Linked DNA regions of Homo sapiens: all the other regions are linked to region 1. Evidence: promoter capture Hi-C in 16 types of primary human blood cells and fetal thymus (Javierre and others, 2016). All regions are on one chromosome and are shown on one strand. The core of a region is centred on a gene start or on the middle of the fragment in contact, and the rest is flanking DNA. Distances in the headings are between cores, read along the strand shown. Region 1 holds the start of NPHP3-AS1 (NPHP3 antisense RNA 1). Region 2 has its middle 11 kb from the start of TOPBP1. Region 3 has its middle 23 kb from the start of BFSP2-AS1. Region 4 overlaps TOPBP1 (DNA topoisomerase II binding protein 1). Region 5 has its middle 5.2 kb from the start of BFSP2-AS1. Region 6 has its middle 15 kb from the start of CDV3. Region 7 overlaps TOPBP1 (DNA topoisomerase II binding protein 1).

Region 1 (2,700 bases), core at 201-2,700:
TATGGATAAGTTTTTTCATGCCTCGATATGTGAGAAAGGAACCAGTATGTTTCACAGGGAATCAGGATTGGTGACATGAGTGACTGTGACACTTGCCAACCCTTATTGCACTCCGCCCTGTTTGGTTTGGCCTTTTCTACCCCCACCTCACAGTTGTTTCCAACGTGCGGTGTCTGTTGGGCAGTGGCTTGGATACATTGAATCAGATATTTGAAATGCACTAGTCCATTTTATACATGCAAGTGCATTAAGGTTGCCCAGTAGGAAAACTGATAAGACAACAGATAAACTGCTACACGGACTTCTTCCCAGACAACGACAATAATTACACAACAGCTAATGAGGGAGTTTAAAAACAAAAACAACAACAACAACAACAACAAAACCTGACTAGAAGAATGTCTAGTCTTGAAGACAGGAGGCTTTTTTTCTTTTAGAAAAATCAGTCTGAGGTATTTATTTCACCCCGACTGTAACGACTCCGGGAACTCTTAGGCTGCCTATAAGTCTCTCCCACAGTAAAGAGTACACAAACGACACAACAACGACCAGAGGGGCCCCAAACTGAGGGCAAAAAGTTTTAGAGATTCGTTCACAGAAAAGCAACCTCTTGCTTTATACTATTTTTTTTTTTTTGATACGGAGTCTCGCTCTGTCACCCAAGCTGGAGTGCAATGGTGCAATCTCGGCTCACTGCAACCTCCGCCTCCCGGGTTCAAGCAATTCTCTTGCCTCAGCCTCCTGAGTAGCTGGGATTACAGGCGCGTGCCACCATGCCCGGCTAATTTTTGTATTTTTAGTAGAGACGGGGTTTCACCATGTTGGCCAGGCTGATCTCGAACTCCTGACCTCAGGTGATCCGTCCGCCTAGGCCTCGAAAAGTGTTGGGATTACAGGCGTGAGCCACCACGCCCGGCTGCTTTACATACTATTTTATTGAATTATAATGGACCTGCTACATGGAGGGCATGCAATAATTGCTTTTAGCGTAAATTAATCAAATGGACTAGGGAAATTTGACTACATCTAGAGAAGGTTTTCAACCATGGTGAGATCAGGAGGCTTCCAGAAATTTTCATGTCAAGACCATTAAAATGCAAGAGCGATGAAACTTTACAAAGAAACCGACACTTGAGCCCCACTTTGGAGACCCACTTAAAATTTTTATGGTGGGGAGGGGGGTGAAACTCCTAGGAAGAGTTTGCTGAGTTGCTTCAACAGATGTCACCAGCCTTCTGAGGGGGTGGGCGCGGGGGCGGCAGTGGAGCTGGAGATTGGCATTTGCCTCCTCAGGACACTTTCCGGCTAATTTCTTCTAGGTGCCTCAATGAATAAACCAGAAATAGAAAAGCGGGGACCAGGCGCGGTGGCTCACTCCTGTAATCCCAGAACTTTAGGAGGCCGAGGCGGGAGGATCATTGAGCCCAGGAGTTCCAGGTTGCAGTGAGCCGCGATCGTGCCACCGCAGCGAGACCCTGTCTCCAAAAAAAGAGACAGAAAAAGGGGAGGGTTAAGGAATCATTTCAGACTCGAAGAGAATATGGCCTCTCAAATTAAAATGGGCAGTTTCCGCCGAACTTTCAAAGCCGCTTGGTTTGGAGAGGGAGCAGGACGGCCGTGCTTCCCAAGGGTCTCCCGGCGTCGCGGCCCAGCCCGGCGTTACCTGCAGTTCGGCCCGCAGCCGCTTGTTCTCCGTGTCCAGCTTGGCCTCGCGGCGGCCCATGGACAACAACTCCTGGTTCTTGCTGACGCGAAAGATCTCGTACTCCTTCCTGAGCCGCTCGTACTCGGCCGCCGCGTACTCCAGCTCTGGCACCGACGAGCCAGTGGACTTGAAGCTGGCCCCCAGCAGCCCGCCCGCGCCCACCCCGCGGGGCAGCGACCCGGGCCCGGCCCCTGCTGCCGCCCCCGCGCCTCGGCGGAACGAGTTGCGCAGCAGGCGGGCCTTGGGCTTCACCTCCACCGGGATCTCGCAGGCCTCGCCGCCGCCCGCCCCGTACGTGTCCTCGATCACTTCCCCGCCCGCGGGGCTCACGAGCGACGAGGCGGTCCCCATGGCGTCCGTTGCCGCTACTACCTAGTGAGTACCAGCAGGACTGGGCAGCGGAACGGAACGGGACGGGGTGGGGCAGAGGAACGGAACGGGACGGGGCGGGGCAGAGGAACGGAACGGGACGGGGCGGGCCAGCGGGATGGAGCGGGGCCGGAGAGCAGGACTGGGCGGAGCAGCGGGACGGGGCGGAGCAGCGGAACGGGGCGAGGCGGGGGAGCGGGATGGGGCGGGGAAACAGGAGGGGCGGGGCAGCAGAACTGGGCGGGGCGGGGGTGCAGGACGGGGCGGGGGAGCAGGACGGGGCGGGGCAGCGGAACGGGGCGGGGCGGGGCCGGAGAGCCGGACGAGGCGAGGCAGCGGAACGGGGCGGGGAGGGAGAGCGGAAGGGGGTGGGGCAACTGGAGGGGCGGGGCAGCGGAACGGGACGGGGCAGCGGAACTGGGGGGATGGGCGAGGGGGACGGGGCGGGGCAGCAGGGCTAGGCGGGACAACAAGAGGGGCCGGGCAAGTGGGGCGGGGCATGTGGGCGGGGCAGGGCAAACGGGGGTGGGTCGAGAAAGCACACAGGGCCAGGCGGGCTAGCAAGAAGGGCGGGGCTAGCAGGAAGGATGGGGGGAGTGGCGACTGTGCAGGACCAGCAGTGGACC
Region 2 (2,700 bases), core at 132-2,631, 950 kb after region 1:
TGTCAGCAGGGCTGAGTTCCTTTCTGGAGGCTCTGCTTCTACATTTAAAGAACCCTTGTGAGGATATTGGCCCACCTGGATAATCAAGCAATACATTTCTCAATAAACCATGAGTTGAATAAGAAATCACAATAAAATTAGAATATATTTTGAACTGAATAACCATGAAGTTATAATATATCAAGAAAAGGAATACTTATAGGCAAATTTATAGCCTTTATCACATGTAATAGAGAAGAGAGGCTGAAAAATCAGTGACCTTAACTGCCTTAAAAGAAAAAAAAAGGCAAGAGAGGCCAGGCATGGTGGCTCACAGCTGTAATCTCAGCACTTTGGGAGGCCAAGGCAGGCAGATCACTTGAGGCCAGGAGTTCGAGACTGGCCTGAACAATATGGTGAAACTCCATCTCCACTAAAAAATAAAAATAAATAAAAATTACCCGGGTGCTCTGTCTAATGCCTGTAATCCCAGCTACTCAGGAGGCTGAGCCAGGAGAATCACTTGAACCCAGGAGGCGGAGGTTACAATGAGCCGCAATCTTGCCACTTCACTCCAGCCTGGGCGATAGAGTGAGACTCTGTCAAAAGAAAAAAAAAAAAAAAGAAGAAGAAGAAAAAGGAGAAGAAGGAAAGAAAGAATAAAGAAGCTAGAGAAAGACCAAAATTCAAAGTCAACAGAGCAGAAATCAATGAAACAATAAATGAATGTACAATAGAGAAAAACAGCAAAGCCAAGGTTGATTCTCTGAAAAGATTAATGAAATAGGTAAAATCCTGGCAATACTAATCAAGGAAAGTAGTAAACATAAATCACTAATATCAGCAATGAAAATACTAAATACCATATACTAAAAATGTCAAAGGATAAGATCATGAATGATTTTATATCAATAAATTTGAAAATTAGATAAAATGGACAAATTTCTTTAACAAAAAACTTACCAATATTGAAACTTGAAGGATCATAAAATCTGGATATTTCTCTAGCTATTTAAGAAACTCAATCTGTTATCAAAAACTTTTCCACAAGTAAAACTCTAAACACAGGTGGCTTCACTGGTGAGGCCTTCCGAACATTTAAGAAAGAAAGAATGCTATTCTTACACAGTATCTTCCAGAGAATAAGAAAAGAAGTAACATATTCCAATTAATTTTATGAGCAATTAAAACCTTGCAACCAAACTTTTAGTGACATTAAGATAAAGAAACCTGCAGAATGATTTCTCTCACGAACACAAATGCAAAAAATCCTAAAAAAAAAAAAAAAAGTAATCAAGTTCAGCAATATGTAAAAAAATGTTATACGTAATAGCCAAGTGGGGTTTATTCCAGGAATGTAAGAGTAGTTCAACATTTAAAAATCAATTAAAGGAGTCCAGCGTGGTGGTGCACTGCTGTAGCCCCAGCTACTTGGGAGGCTGAGGAGGGAGGATCACTTGAGCCTAGGAGGTGGAGCCTTCACTGAACTATGATCCCACAGCTGCACTCCAGCCTGGGCAATAGAGCAGGACCCAAGCAAGAGGGAAGGGAGGGGAAGGGGAGGGAAAGGAAGGGGAGGGGAGGGAAGGGGAGGGGGACAGAAAAAGGAAAGAAGAGAGAAAGAGAAAGAAAAAGAAAGAAAAAAGAGAATAAGAGAAGTTTACCACATTAATATAAAAGAAAAGGGAATCATATGAGTATCTTAGGTGCAGAAAAAATACTTGACAAAATGCAATACCCATTCATGATTTTTAAAAAATTTAGGCAACCCAGGAAGGAAGGAAAGTTCCTTAATATGGTTAATAATATTTAAAACAAAACAAAACACCAGCAAAAATTTTGCATAATGGAGAATTATTGAAAACTTTCCCTATCACCCTTCTACTCAATTTTGTATTAATAGTTCGGCAGTAACTATTAAAGCTGAACGTACATCTACTTCATGATGTATGGGGAAACCCTGCAGTGATGCATCCCTAAGTGCACGAAAAGACATGTAGTAGAATGTAATGTGAGTTCTAGCCAGTGCAGTAAGTCAAGAGGAAAGAGATTCCTAAGGATCTGAAAGGAAAAAACAAAACTGACCTTATTCATATAAGATATAAGGATGTGCATAGGAAGGAAGCAATTCCAACTAATAAGACAACTCAGCAAGATCACTGGATTCAAGGTCAATATACGAAAACCAATTGTTTTTTTCAGATACCAGCAACAGATAGAAAATACAGTTAAAATTATATCCACAGCAGCACTATCCTTAAGAGCCCACTGAAGACTACAACGATCAAGAGGAAAGATAAAATGTGCTGCATACACAGTGTAGAATGTGCAACGCTGATAATGAATAAAGGGCAACTATAAACAACATAGGTGAATCTCACACATAGCATCTCCAGTGAAAGAGGTCAAACACAGAATTGTACGTATGGTATGATTCCATCTGCATAAAGCTCAAAAATCAGCAGAATTAGTCTATGTGTTAGAAGTCAAGATAATGGGTACCTTTGTGGGAGGGGGTTGTGCCAGCTTTGTTTGTTAACGTTTTGTTTCTTGATGTGGGTGCTGGTTATGTGGGTGTGTTCATTTGATGATAATTAAGCCGTACATTTATTTAGAACATGTGACGTTCTATGCATATTTATTATACTTTAATTAAAAGTTCTTAAAATTGTATTTAAATTCAGATTTTCCCCAGGCAGAAGTCACAGACCTGAGCAGGAT
Region 3 (2,700 bases), core at 91-2,590, 790 kb after region 1:
TTTTTAGTAGAGATGGGGTTTTGCCATGTTGGCCAGGCTGGTCTCAAACTCCTGACCTCACGTGATCCTCCTGCCTTAGCCTCCCAAAGTGCTGGGATTACAGGTGTGAGCCATGGCACCCAGCCTGGATATGGATTTTTACCTTCTCTGCACATAATTCTTCTGCTGTAACTACCACCTGTAGACTTAAAGAATGTCTTATCTACCATCATGGTATTCCATACAGCATTGCTTTTGACCAAGGAACACACTTCACAGCCAAAGTACAGCAATGGGCTCATGCTCCTGGAATTCACTGGTCTTTCCATGTTCCCTACCATCCTGAAGCAGCTGGCTTGATAGAATGATGGGATGGCCTTTTGAAGACACGGTTATAGTATGATAGGTGATAATACTTCGTAGGGGCAAGATTCTCCAGAAGACTGTATAAGCTCTGAATCAGCATCTAATACACGGTACTGTTTCTCCCATTGCCAGGATGTAGAGGTCCAGGAATCAAGGGGTGGAAATGGGAGTGGCACCACACACCATGACCCCTAATGACCTACTAGCACAATTGTTGCTTCCTTTTCCCATGGCTTTATGCCCGGCTGCCATAGAGGTCTTATTTCCAGAGGGAAGAATGCTTTCACTAGCAGACACAACAATGATTCCATTGAACTGGAAGTTGAGACTCGCACCTAGCCACTTTGGGCTCCGCACACCTCTGAGTCAGGGGAGTTATGGTGTTGGCTGGAGTGATTGATCTGGACTACCAAGGAGAAATTGGACTACTACTCCACAATGGAGGTAAGGAGGTAAGTATTTCTGAAATACAGGCAATTCCTTGGGCCATCTCTTAATATTACCATGCCCTGTGGTTAAGGTCAATGGGGAACTATGATAACCCAATCTAGCCAGGACTATGAATGGCCCAGAGCCTTCAGGAATAAGTTTTGAGTCATCACATTAGGTAAAGAATCAAGCCGAACTGCTTGCTAGAAGCAAAGAGAATACAGGATGGATGGTAGAAGATGATAGTTATAAATACCATCTAAGACCCTATGACCAGTTACAGAAATGAGAGCCGTAATTGCCATGAGTATTTCCTCCCTCTTTTGTCAAATGTGAGCTAGTTTAACAAAAGGAGGAGGTTTGGGCACATACCAGGGTTTCCTGGAACCAGGCAATAGGGTCTCCTGTGGCCTGGGGCCCAGACATATTTATTTTATTTCCTCTCTTATTATTGTATCAGGTAACATAAAATATATTGACTTTATATCAGCAGTTAAGTATCGTTAATTTTACATTATTTAACTTATGGGATATCGGGAGAAGAGTAAACATCACTCAAAGACTTTACCTCCTCTTCTGGGGAAGGAACTGGTGCACTTTTATTGCGTGTAGGATAGTTGTATCATGTTAGGTGGAACTATGGCTTTAAGAAGATGGGTAAATGTGGCTGGGCGTGGTGGCTCACGCCTGTAATCCCAGCACATTGGGAGGCCAAGGGGGGCGGATCACGAGGCAGGAGTTTGAGACCACCTGGCCAGTGTGGTGAAACTCTGTCTCTACTAAAAATACAAAAATTAGCCGGTCGTGGTGGTGCATGCCTGTAGTCCCAGCTACTCAGAAGGCTGAGGCAGAAGAATAGCTTGAACCCAGGAGGCAGAGGTTGCAGTAAGCTGAGATCATGGCACTATACTCCACCCTAGGTGACAGAGCAAGACTCCATCTCAAAAAAAAAAAAAGATGGGTAAGTGTGCCAAGTTGACAAGGTGTGAACTTTTGATGATTAGTTTTAGGTGTTAATGTGACTGGATTAAGGGATACCCAGATAGCCAATAAAGCATTATTTCTGGATCTGTCTGTAAGAATATTTCTGGAAAAGACTGGCACTTGAATCAGTAGACTGAGTAAGGAAGATCAGCCCTCACCCAATGTGCAAGCACCAACCAGTTGGTTGAGGGCCCAAATAGAAAAAAAAGGCAGAGGAAGGACAATTTGCTCTCTCTCTTCTGGAGGTGGGACACCCATCTTCTCCTGCCCTTGGACATCAGAACTCTAGGTTCTCTGGCCTTTGGACTCCAGGCCTTATACCAGCAGCTCCCCAGGTTCTCAGGCCTTCAGCCTCTGACTGAGAGTTACACCATCGGGTCTCCTTGTTCTCAGCCTCTGACTTTAGACGAAGCCATGCTATCAGTTTCTTTGGTTCACCAGCTCACAGATGGCATACCGTGGGACTACTCAGCCTTGTGATGACATAAGCAAATTCCCTCATAAATCCCGTCTCATAGATCTCTATCTAACTCCTACCTACCTATGTACCTATATCCTACTGGTGCTCTGGAGAAGCATGATTAACAGGTGGACACCTGACTCCAGAGGGTCAGTCCGAATTTTTTCTCCCAAGAATGTGGATTTGATCCTAAAATGAATGAGTCAGTTTCTGCTGGTTGCTTCACTCATAGACGGGCCAGCTCAAGATCTGCAAGTGGGCCTTTCCTCCACAGGGGTAGGGAAGTCTAGAAGTCTGCTCTACAGGAGAGGCAGGAACCTGACACGCAGGCAGAGGAGAGATAGATGTCACAGCTTTGAGGAGTCAGAGGAAAGCTCTGCCTTCCTTTCCAGATTCTGTCCAGCTCCGGGTCCCAGGCCTCAGGAGACCCTATTGCCTGGTTCCAGGAAACCTTGGTATGTGCCCAAACCTCCTTCTTTTAT
Region 4 (2,700 bases), core at 70-2,569, 900 kb after region 1:
ATATATTTTACACATCATTATCTCATCCATTCCTCACAACAATCCTAACACTGGTATTATTACATTAATCTTAAAGATAAAAGAACTAAGGGACATGGTTCAGTACCCTGTTCAAGGATACTCAATGAGTAAATGATAGAGATAACTTTGACTTCAAAAGCCATGCTCTTAACTATTATATTATGCTATGATCTCCCAATTCTTCCTATTCAATATTCTCTCTTTTTTTGAGACAGAGTCTCACTCTGTCACCCAGGCTGGAATGCAGTGGCACAATCTTGGTTCACTGCAATCTCCACCTCCCGGGTTCAAGCAATTCTCCTATCTCAGCCTCCTGAGCAGCTGGGATTATAGGCGTACGCCACCACACCCAGCTAATTTTTGTATTTCTAGTAGAGATGGGTTTTCACCATATTGGGCAGTGGTCTCGAACTCCTGACTTCAAGTGATCCACCCGCCTTGCGCTCCCAAAGTGCTGGGATTACACGCATGAGCCACCGTGCCCGGCCGCTATTCAATATTCTCTTGACCTGGGAAACATCAAGTAAAAACCAAAGGGTAGGTAAAAATTATATTTCTAAATACAATCACCAAAATAAACAGAATTTTATCCTTAGGGACACTTAATATTTTCCATTTTCTAAGTAAGGAATATCTCTGAGCTTTTTAAATAGACAAATGAATTAAGAAGCTGGGTGCAGTGGCAGTGGCTCATGCCTGTAATTCCAGTACTTTGGGAGGCCAAGGCAGGTGGATCACCTGAGGTCGGGAGTTTCAGACCAGTCGACCAACATGGAGAAACCACATCTCTTCTAAAAATACAAAATTAGCCGGGTGTGGTGGCGCATGCCTGTAATACCAGCTACTCAGGAGGCTGAGGCAGGAGAATCGCTTAAACCCAGGAGGTGGAGGTTGTGGTGAGTCGAGATTATGTCACTGCACTCCAGCCTGGGCAACAAGAGCAAAACTCCCTCTCAAAAAAAAAAAAGAATTAAGAAAAAGAAGTAAGAAGTACTATTGCCTCCTAAGTTATATTATAAAAATCTCTATTTCCTACTGACCATGTATCCTAAAACATAACAATAAAAATACACCTTGCCTAATTTGTTAGTTCTCAGAATAACTGTCTCCCTTTCTGCGTAGTGGTATATTATCAAGATAATTCAGAAAAACAGAGGAGTATTTTTGCCTGAATCAATTTGGTTTACCAGTCAACTCCACTATGACAATATGGAAACCATGAGTTTCAGTCTTCAGAGGCCATTCAAGAACAGACTGTCAGTGGTTGTAGATGGTTTACATCAGGGTTTGGCAAATTTTTTCTTAAAAGGCCAGATAGTAAATATTTTAGACTTTGCAGGCCAAACAATCTCTTTTGCAACTGCTCAACTTTTGTCTTGTATGTGAAAGCAGTCATAGGCAATTTGTAAGTGAAAAGGCATTGCTGTATTCCAATAAAACTTTACTTACAAAAACAGATGAACCAGCCCATACACCCTTGGTCTAGATCAGCGGTTTCAGCAAAAGTGTTACTTCAGGGGTTATTTTGGACATTTGTGAGGGTGATTTTGGTTGTTACAATGTGTGTTTGTATGTTGGAGGGTGCTACTAGCATGCAGTGGGTAAGGTACAGGATGCTGGAAATTCTGGGGAACAGTCATACATATAATTATGTCATATCTTGCATGATATTCTAATGTCCCGACAAATTCACGTATGTAAAAAAAAGTTGTTTATAATTAGTTGAGTCTAGAACCTGTTCGACATATAAACAAGTTATTTTTTTGCAGTTTTAATATACACTAATATTACAAAAATGTGACTACTGTATAAATTGATGGAAGACCACTGCTACTCATGGTATCTGAGTCCCCAGATCGGTCTCAGCCTTGGGACTGTTGGATTTGTGGTGCCTTTACATAGGTATACAAACGTATTAATACTCCATTGTTTTCTAGTGTAGTCAGCCTTAGGCATTATACATAACTGAACATATATCTTTTCTATATTATGCACCTTCTATTTCTCCTATGCATCACAGAGTGCTATACTGTCTGCTACTTTTTTAAATTATAAAAGTAGGTAGGTTATATTTATATTCATTTTAATAGAGGGAATGTTACACAAATATTTGTAATAAAATGAAGATGCTGCATCTGATTTGTTGCAAAGATCGGGCCTACATGTTTAACTGTCTGAAGACAGAAGACAGTATCCGATGATCTCTTTGGGACAGTCTGGTCCTAGATGATGGAAGGGAACATTTGGAACAACTTCACTTGAGAACTGCTTTACTCTATGCATATATAAATATCTAACCTCTGCATATTATAAGGCTCTTCCCTTTATCAATTACCAATCCATTTCAGGAAAAGATTTAATATAAACTTTAATGCAATGCAATGGTTAAATTCTGTTTAGGAATTTCAGTAATAAATTCTATTTTTTATACTGAGAGGACTGGCATTTAAAATCATATAAAAACATACATCCTATATGTTCCCTTGAAAGTCTTATATCATGTCTACATCAAAACAGAATAAACAAGGAAACATTCAATTTTGAGGAAAAAAAAATATACACACACCCCTTGTAGGGCTACTATGAGAATGAAACGAGATAATGCTCAGCAACTGGCAATAGGTAACATAATAGGTAATTAGATAATAACAGATAAGATTACCTAACAATTTATAATAG
Region 5 (2,700 bases), core at 155-2,654, 770 kb after region 1:
CATAGTGGGGATTCAAACTTCAACATATCTTTTTTTGGAGTCACAGTTCAATCCGTCTCAACAGGGCAGTTATTTTACAAAATACTCCTCAACTTGAGTTCTGGTATTTCCTCAGGTTAGATTCAAGTTGCACACTTTCAGTTGGAATACCATAAAACTCACCAGGAGGCATGTGATATCAATATGTCCCTCTCCTGGTGATATTAATTTTGTTTACTGGGTTCAGGTGGCGTGTGCCAAGCTTCTCCACTGTAAAGTTACTGTTTTTCCATTTGTAATTAGTAAGTATCTTGTGGAAAAATATTTTTAGTCTATTTTGAGTAAATATTGTTATTCCTCAAACTTTCTGTCCCAGAAGTTTTAGTTTTAGCATCAATTGATGATTCCTGCCCACGTCAATTATTACTTATTATGGTTGCCAAATGGTGATTTTCAAATTCCATCATTTCTTCTACATTTTTTAGTTGGCTTTCTTCTATAAGAAAAAATGTTCTGGCCGGGCACGGTGGCTCGCGCCTGTAATCCCAGCACTTTGAGAGGCCAAGGCAGGAGGATCACCTGAGGTCGGGAGTTCAAGACCAGCTTGATCAACATAGAGAAACGCTGTCTCTACTAAAAATACAAAATTAGCTGGGCGTGGTGGCACATGCCTGTAATCCCAGCTACTCGGGAGGCTGAGGCAGGAGAATTGCTTGAACCTGGGAGGCGGAGGTTGTGGTGAGCCAATATTGCACCATTGCACTCCAGCCTAGGCAACAAGAGCGAAACTCCATCTCAAAAAAAAAGAAAGAAAGAAAGAAAGAATGTTCCTTTCTTCCCTATTGTGTGTGTGTGTGTGTGTGTGTGTGTGTGTGTGTGTGTGGTGTGTGTGTGTTTATATCAGCATGAACACATGGAGGGGCTGCAAGTTTTGAGCAGGGCCTAGAGCAAAAAGGCATCTGTAGCAAGCTGAGGTGTGGAGCCAGCTGCCTGCCACTGCACCTATGACCAGCATGCCCAATAATTGTGGAAGTATCTGTTGCAGACAAAGGTAACATATAGAACCCTTGGCACGCCACAGTAGGAGAATAACAGTCATAGGATATTTGAGAAAGGCTATGTCCACCACTGTTGTCAGTTAGTCTCCACTAAAAAGCAACTCCTGACTTCCTCCTGAAACCTCATGGACTGAGCACTTGGCTTCAGGACCTACTCTGTACCTGGGCTATGTGAATGGGTGCTCCTCCTGCTGAACACCAGTGTATTCCAGCAATAGGGAGCACCAGCAGGAGAATGAGGGACGAAAGAGAGTGAGGTCAGTGTATTTATTGCCCTGCCCCTCCCTGCAGCATCACCACAGGCCAGTTCTGATGATGAATTGAGGAAAAAATATCACTCCTATGATATTTTTACCAAAAATGCGTAATCCAAATCTAATCCTGAGAAAACATCAGACAAGCTCAAATGGAGGCACAGTCTACAAAATCATTGGCCTGTACAACCCAAAAAACATCAAGTTTATAAAAGACAAGGGAAGACTGAGGAACTGTGCAGATTAAAGAAAACTAAAGAAACCTGACAACTAAATGCAACCCATGAACCTGGATTGTATCCTGGACCAGAAAATTGTTTTCTTTTGTTACAAAGGACACATTTTGGACAACTGATGGAATTTAAATAAAGTCTGTAAGTTAGATAATAATATTGTATCAATGTTTATTTCCTAATTTTCTTATAACTGTATAAAAGATTAGGTTCATGCTATACATGCTGTTTTTGTTCTTTTGTTGTTGTTGTTTTTGATTTTGTTTTTTTTTTTTTTTCTGAGACAGGGTCTTGCTCTGTCACCCAGGCTGGAGTGCAGCGGGTGCAGCGGTGCAATTTCAGCTCACTGCAGCCTTGACCTCCCCAGCTCAATCAATTAGCCCTCCCATCTCAGATTCTCAAGTAGGGACTACAGGTATGTACCACCACACCAGGCTAATTTTTTTTTTTTTTTTGTAGAGGTGGGGTTTCACCATGTTGCCCAGGCTGGTCTCAAACTCCTGTGTTTAAGCGATCCACCCGCCTCGGCCCCACAAAGTGCTGGGGTTACAGGTTTGAACCACCACACCAGGCCTTAAATTTTAAATAGAGACGGAGTCTTACTATGTTGCCCAGGCTAGTCTTGAAGTCCTGGGCTCAAACAATCCTTCCACCTCAGCCTCCCAAAGTTCTGAGATTATGGAAGTGAGCCACCATACCCAACTTATGCTGCTTTTTAAGAAAACTGAGTTTTTAGTTTAATTTCACTTGAACTTAACACAAGAAAAAATGAAATTAAATTGAAAGAAATGTTAGACTTTTAACACATTTTTTTCACCTTAGGAAATATTCGTTGTTATAGGATTCTTCTGTTTCTATAGGTTTAAAAAAATGAAAGCTGTTAAGAGGTTGGAATGTTATACATTACTTTTAAGTGCATGTTTCATTTTTACATAGTATCAATTCTCTCTATACTATAAAACATGTAATTATTGGCATAGGTATATTTCTTCCTTTTCCCTTCTCTTTCACTCTTGTTTGTTGCTCATATCATTTCTACTTTATCAAGCTTTATAGTCTGGGCACGGTGGCTCACACCTGTAATCTCAGCACTTTGGGAGGCTGAGGTGGGCAGATCACTTGAGGTCAGGAATTCAAGACCAGCCCGGCCAACCTGGTGAAACCCCATCTCTACTA
Region 6 (2,700 bases), core at 93-2,592, 840 kb after region 1:
CCAGCATGGCACATGTACACATATGTAACTAACCTGCACATTGTGTACATGTACCCTAAAACTTAAAGTATAATAATAATAAAAAGAAAAGAAAAAAAGCCCAAAAAACTAGAGGTGAAGTTTATTTCTCTTCTTTTTGAACTTTGTATGGCAGACACACCTGACACCAATAACTTAACTTAAGCATATGCTGAGAATGACCCTATGGTCTAAGAAGAATGTGCATTTGGCGTTCCGAGCTAAGAAATCCGGGAGTGGCCAACCCACAGACTCACTCATTATCAATGAAGGACATTTGAATCCTTGGCCCATTCCTTGGAACACAGGCTATACAGGGGATGAACGCCCTTTGTTTTGGGTTAAAAGAAGGTTGCTAGGTGGAGGCTGCTAAATAAAAATGCTATGTGTAGGCTGGGCGCCATGGCTCACACCTGTAATCCCAGCACTTAGGGAGGCCGAGGCGGGCAGATCACCTGAGGTTAGGAGTTTGTGACCAGCCTGGCCAACATGGTGAAACCTCGTCTGTACTAAAAATACAAAAATAGCTGAGCGTGGTGGTGCGCACCAGTAATCCCATCTACTCGAGAGACTGAGGCAGGAAAATCACTTGAACCCGGGAGGCAGAGGTTGCAGTAAGCCAAGATCATGCCACTGCACTCCAGCCTGGGCAACAGAGTGAGACTCCATCTCAAAAATAAATGTGCTCTGTGTGTGTGTATATATATATTTTTTTAATTAAAAAAAAAATAGAGCAAGCTATCTACCTGCCTTGGCCTCCAAAGGTGCTAGGATTACAGCCACCGTGCCCAAATGCTATATAAACTGCATGCTTTTTACAAACGGTAGTTGTTTTCCCATCCAGCCTGCCACCACTGGAGCATCGCTGTATTTAAGTTCACCCAATACATCCTGTGTCTTGTTTGCTTTCCTTCGGCCTCTCGGACATGATACCATCCCTATTGGAGTTAATAGGGGTCTGGCAAGACAAACTGGGGCTGGTCTCATGGCATGTTATGCCAATGGAATGCAGTCTAAGTAACACTGTGCCAGTTCCAGGCCTGGGCCATAAGAGGTCTCACAGCTTTCACTCTTGCCCTCTTAGGATCCAGTTGTCTTGTAAGAAAGCTCAGGTCTGACTACTAAATGATGAGAGACCACATAGAGAGGAAGGTAACTAGCCATCCCTCAGCTGTTTCAGACACCCCAGTTAAGTCACTAGACAAGTTAGGAAACCTATCTTGGTCATTCTCACCCTAGACAGGCTCCCACTTGAATGTCATCACATAAATGACCCCAGACAACACTGCAGGGAGCAGAACCACCCAGTTGAGTCCTATGCCATCTCTGCCTCCCATGTAACACTTGGCATGTGGCTGGGCAAACTCAACTCATCCTTCAGGAGCTGACTGCAGTATGCCTGCTGTGCCAGACCCCACTGACTGAGCAGGCCCAACAATGCACCTCAACCTTGACCGCGTGTTAGAATCACCCGGGGAGCTTCCCAAAACGCCCATGGTGGTCCAACCCCCAGAGATTTAGCTTCCTTGTCTGAGGCAAGGCAGAGATATTGAGACGAGTGAAGGGTGGAAGGGTTGGGCAATAGTACATGATGAAAAGAAGAAACTGACTCTGCAGTCACAGCAGGCCTAGGTTCAAATCTTGACCCTTCCTCTAACTAGATGTATATCCTCTCTGATCCTCAGCTTTCTCATCTGTGAAAAGGGTAACTATCATCTCCCCTTCCAGTGAGCTAAGGGGAGTCAGCTGCCATAGAACAAAGTGATTAAAAGTAAAGAACTTGGAGGCAGAGAGAATGGGGTTAAAATCACAGCTTAAGCACTACAAAACTATGAGAAATAAGGGTATGCTACGAACAACTGCAACCCAAAAATTTGGCAGCTTAAATGAAATGGATCAATTATTTGAAAGACACAAACTACCAAAATTCACTCAAGAAGAAATAGATAACCTGAATAGTCCTATATGTATCCAGTTGAATTTGTAGTTTAAAATTCCAGGCCCTGGTGGTGTCTCTAATGAATTCAACCCAAACTGTGGGAGACTCTAAACTACTTATGTATTTAAAATCTCAAAAGATAGAGATAATAAAACTTATCCTTGGCTGGGTGTGATGGCTCATGCCTGTAATCCCAGCACTTTGGGAGGTCAAGGTGGGCAGATCACCTGAGGTTAGGAGTTTGAGACCAGCCTGGCCAACATAGTGAAACCCTGACTCTACTGAAAATACAAAAATTAGCTGGGCATGGTGGTGCATGCCTGTAATCCCAGCTACTCGGGAGCCGGAGGCAGGAGAATCACTTGAACCCAGGAGGCGGAGGTTGCAGTGAGCCGAGATCGCGCCATTGCACTCCAGCCTGGACAACAAGAGTGAAACTCTGTCTCAATAAATAAATAAATAAAAATAAAACTTATCCCTGCATGAGCCAGGCACAGGGCTGGACTCTTGTCCTGCTCCGCCTCTAACTGGTGAGCAACTGTGGGTAAATCCCTTCACTTCTCAGTGCTGTAAGATTTTTAGCAGGAAAATGTTAAGATTCTAAAAATGCTCTGCTGTACATCATTCACTGGGGAAGAAATGTGTCTGCTTGATGCTTGAAGGGGAAGTGGGCTGACTCCTGGACAGCAGGATTCTGCCTGGGGCCACAGCCAATCACTAGGTGCCCTTCCACCAGAGGACAC
Region 7 (2,700 bases), core at 135-2,634, 890 kb after region 1:
ATTTGTAATAGGTCATAGAGCTAAACATAAAAGCTAAAACAATAACTTTTTAGAAAAAAATATTAAATACACACACACACACCAACAAACAAACAAACAAACAAAGAGACCATGAAAGAAAAAGTGCTCGATGTCATTAGTCATCAGGGAAATACAAATTACAAACACTCTGTACAAATTACAATGTGCTCCCACTATAAACCTACCGCATGGCTAAAAATCAAATGACTGCCAACACTAAATGTTGGCAAAATATGGAATAACCAGAAGGCTTACACAGATTGAGTATCCCTTATCTGAAGTGCTTAGAATCAGAAGTATTTCAGATTTTGGAATATTTATATTTACTGGTTGAGCAACCGAAACCCAGAAATCAGAAATGTTTACGATTTTGTACCATTTCTAACTTTTGGATTTGGGATGCTCAATCTGTATATTATTGGTGGAAAGTGTAAAATGGTAAAAATCCCTGTATATTTTTAGTAGCTTTACTAATGATAACCAAGATGACAAACAGCTACTAAAAATATACAGGCTTTTTTATGGACATATTTTTTCATTTTTCCTGGGTAAATAGGACAGAATTGCTGTGTAATAGAATAAGTAAATATTTCGTTTTTTAAGAAGCTGCCAGGCCTTTTGTCAAAGGGATTTTTACCATTTTACACTTCCCACCAATAATGTACAGATTGAGCATCTCAAATCCAAAAGTTAGAAATGGTACAAAATCCTAAACTTTCGAGCACTTATGTGATGCTCAAGGGAAGTGCTTATTGGAACATTTCTGATTCCAGGAGTCCAAGGGTCCATCAATAGGAAAATGAATCAACTATGGTATATTCAGACAAAGAAATACTACTCAGCAATAAAAAGGAATGAACTACTGGTATACACTACAACTTGAATGAATGTCAAAAACATCACGTTGAGTGAAAACCTTAGATAAAATCGTGGATACTAATCAGTATGCCCTCTGCTCTATAACGGCTTCACATTTGTGTTTTAGGCATTCTATTAAATCCTGAGCAATCTCCAAGCACAGCAGCAAAATCACAAAGCTGACTTTGAGTGTTGGCCTCCCCTTATTTCTGTATCATCCCAGTTGAAATCCTTCATAGATTATGATTATGAAATCTAATCCTTATGATTATGTGTCATGCCTGCTGACTCCTGATGGCCTTTTGGGCACTCTGGTGTCAGAAGATTTTTCTTACCCCATTCAAATTACACAACACAGGCCAATTCTGAATATGAGAGTAGTAAGCCCACCATATAGCAAATGCTTAAATTTACCACAGTGTCTAACATAGGTATTTAATGTACATGAAAGCAAACAGTCAAGAAAACTAAAGGACCTTTGGATAAATGTTTCTCCTTGGACTCCTGGAATCGATTTCTGCTTTATATTCCAACATTTTAAAGGGTATTTTTAAAGCCTTTAGAGGTACCTAGATTTTTATACTCTTCTCATATTTAACTTCCAAGCTAAATGTTTACATAATATGTTCATTATAATAAAAAACACAAATAGAATAAAACTGAAAGGGCTGGAATAGAAGAGAATAACAGGAGACTAATCTTCTACTAATCATGAGCTGAAGGTTTTGTTGTGCAGTTACTTATCTATGCACATAAACGTATCTCTGGTAATGAGGAGGTCAAGGATAGAATCTCACAAACCTGCATGAGATAATCAGCAATGTATTCTGTTCTCAAGCAGTACACGTTCTGGGCAGCAGCTTCTGCTATATTAACTCCTGAGTCATCTGGTTTCAGTTTATTCAAGTCAGAAAAAAGATGTGTGGCCTCTTTAAATAAAGGTACAGAATGACCAGGTAGCACCTAATGAAAAAACAAGGTAGTATCACAATCTACCAGTATTCCAAAGTAGTTCAGCTGTATAATGTGTACTTAAGGATTACCATTTCAAAAAGTAGAGAAAATGAAGAACTCATCATAGCAATCTTGGTTAGATGATTATTCATGTAAAAAGGTCAGTAAATTAATTTGATACAAACCTTTGCTCCTCCTGACTGAAGAAGGCGTTTGAAGCCTGCTTCTCGAGACTGATCCACATGTAAAATAACCTTCCACCCACTAAATGCTCCCTACAAATAAAAAACAATCAGTGGTGAAATCATTTGGAAAATAACAAAATAATACAGATAATGCATGATTTTATCTGTAGACTTAGTTTTGTCAATAAATCTTATAAACTTTACTTTTGCCACAGTATAATTATCTCTGGCCAGAACACTGAAACGTGAATCCATGGTATCTGGCACATAGTAGGCCATCAAGAAATACGTGAGGAATGAAAAACCATTAATGATTAGGTAACATTAAAACAAAGCAGTGTGATTGATGTTTAGTCTTTTCTAGTATTTTTTTCTTTTGATTAATCAAGGGAAGAGCTTCAAGCAGAGCTCCTTAGGTTAGATGAAGCCTGCGTTTCACTTCTCTTAAAAATGTTTACAAACTGGAAACAAAATATTTAGGAAGGGAATAACAACTAACAAAAGCCAGTGGAATTACTCTAAAAGAGAGGGTATCATGGCTAATAAGGATTTGGAGATATCAGAGAACTTAGAATACAACATGAAAGACTATTTAACTCAGGGGTTCTGATAATGGTTTGGCTGTGTCCCCACCCAAAATCTCATCTTGAATTGTAATCCGAATGATAATCTCCAAGTGTTG

Evidence for each region. Contacts are between HindIII fragments. The CHiCAGO score rates a contact against its expected background, and 5 or more counts as called.
Region 2: a contact is called between a fragment that was not itself captured here and the fragment with the promoter of NPHP3-AS1 in region 1, in 2 of 17 cell types (total CD4 T cells and fetal thymus). The highest score is 6.4, in total CD4 T cells.
Region 3: a fragment that was not itself captured here is called in contact with the fragment with the promoter of NPHP3-AS1 in region 1 in 8 of 17 cell types (naive CD8 T cells, neutrophils, naive CD4 T cells and 5 more); the score reaches 8.8 in naive CD8 T cells.
Region 4: a fragment that was not itself captured here is called in contact with the fragment with the promoter of NPHP3-AS1 in region 1 in 8 of 17 cell types (total CD4 T cells, naive CD8 T cells, total B cells and 5 more); the score reaches 8.9 in total CD4 T cells.
Region 5: a contact is called between a fragment that was not itself captured here and the fragment with the promoter of NPHP3-AS1 in region 1, in 8 of 17 cell types (naive CD8 T cells, total CD8 T cells, activated CD4 T cells and 5 more). The highest score is 13.6, in naive CD8 T cells.
Region 6: a contact is called between a fragment that was not itself captured here and the fragment with the promoter of NPHP3-AS1 in region 1, in 7 of 17 cell types (neutrophils, fetal thymus, monocytes and 4 more). The highest score is 9.0, in neutrophils.
Region 7: a contact is called between a fragment that was not itself captured here and the fragment with the promoter of NPHP3-AS1 in region 1, in 8 of 17 cell types (M2 macrophages, M1 macrophages, total CD4 T cells and 5 more). The highest score is 11.4, in M2 macrophages.

Annotation. Positions count from the first base shown.
Region 1 is chr3:132,720,300-132,722,999 of GRCh38, forward strand. It overlaps NPHP3-AS1 (NPHP3 antisense RNA 1), which reads left to right and starts at 1,451. Exons shown (of 11, transcript NR_002811.2): 1 at 1,451-2,080. NPHP3 (nephrocystin 3) reads right to left here and starts at 2,110. Exons shown (of 27, transcript NM_153240.5): 1 at 1,664-2,110. The coding sequence starts at 2,056. NPHP3-ACAD11 (NPHP3-ACAD11 readthrough (NMD candidate)) reads right to left here and starts at 2,160. Exons shown (of 45, transcript NR_037804.1): 1 at 1,664-2,160. RefSeq lists silencers at 1,767-2,016, 2,117-2,626. The HindIII fragment of the contact is 4,122 bases long and covers 1-2,700 here.
Region 2 is chr3:133,671,208-133,673,907 of GRCh38, forward strand. It overlaps a transcript of TF not described here. Among named protein-coding and RNA genes, the nearest start is that of TOPBP1, 11 kb to the left of the region's middle. The HindIII fragment of the contact is 3,186 bases long and covers 1-2,700 here.
Region 3 is chr3:133,512,346-133,515,045 of GRCh38, forward strand. No RefSeq gene overlaps it. Among named protein-coding and RNA genes, the nearest start is that of BFSP2-AS1, 23 kb to the left of the region's middle. The HindIII fragment of the contact is 7,656 bases long and covers 1-2,700 here.
Region 4 is chr3:133,624,756-133,627,455 of GRCh38, forward strand. The region is part of intron 16 of TOPBP1 (DNA topoisomerase II binding protein 1); the gene reads right to left. Among named protein-coding and RNA genes, the nearest start is that of TOPBP1, 36 kb to the right of the region's middle. The HindIII fragment of the contact is 6,507 bases long and covers 1-2,700 here.
Region 5 is chr3:133,494,928-133,497,627 of GRCh38, forward strand. No RefSeq gene overlaps it. Among named protein-coding and RNA genes, the nearest start is that of BFSP2-AS1, 5.2 kb to the left of the region's middle. The HindIII fragment of the contact is 2,331 bases long and covers 240-2,570 here.
Region 6 is chr3:133,557,400-133,560,099 of GRCh38, forward strand. No RefSeq gene overlaps it. Among named protein-coding and RNA genes, the nearest start is that of CDV3, 15 kb to the right of the region's middle. The HindIII fragment of the contact is 7,264 bases long and covers 1-2,700 here.
Region 7 is chr3:133,606,855-133,609,554 of GRCh38, forward strand. It overlaps TOPBP1 (DNA topoisomerase II binding protein 1), which reads right to left. Exons shown (of 28, transcript NM_007027.4): 26 at 2,019-2,108; 27 at 1,681-1,842. Among named protein-coding and RNA genes, the nearest start is that of CDV3, 35 kb to the left of the region's middle. The HindIII fragment of the contact is 2,989 bases long and covers 1-2,700 here.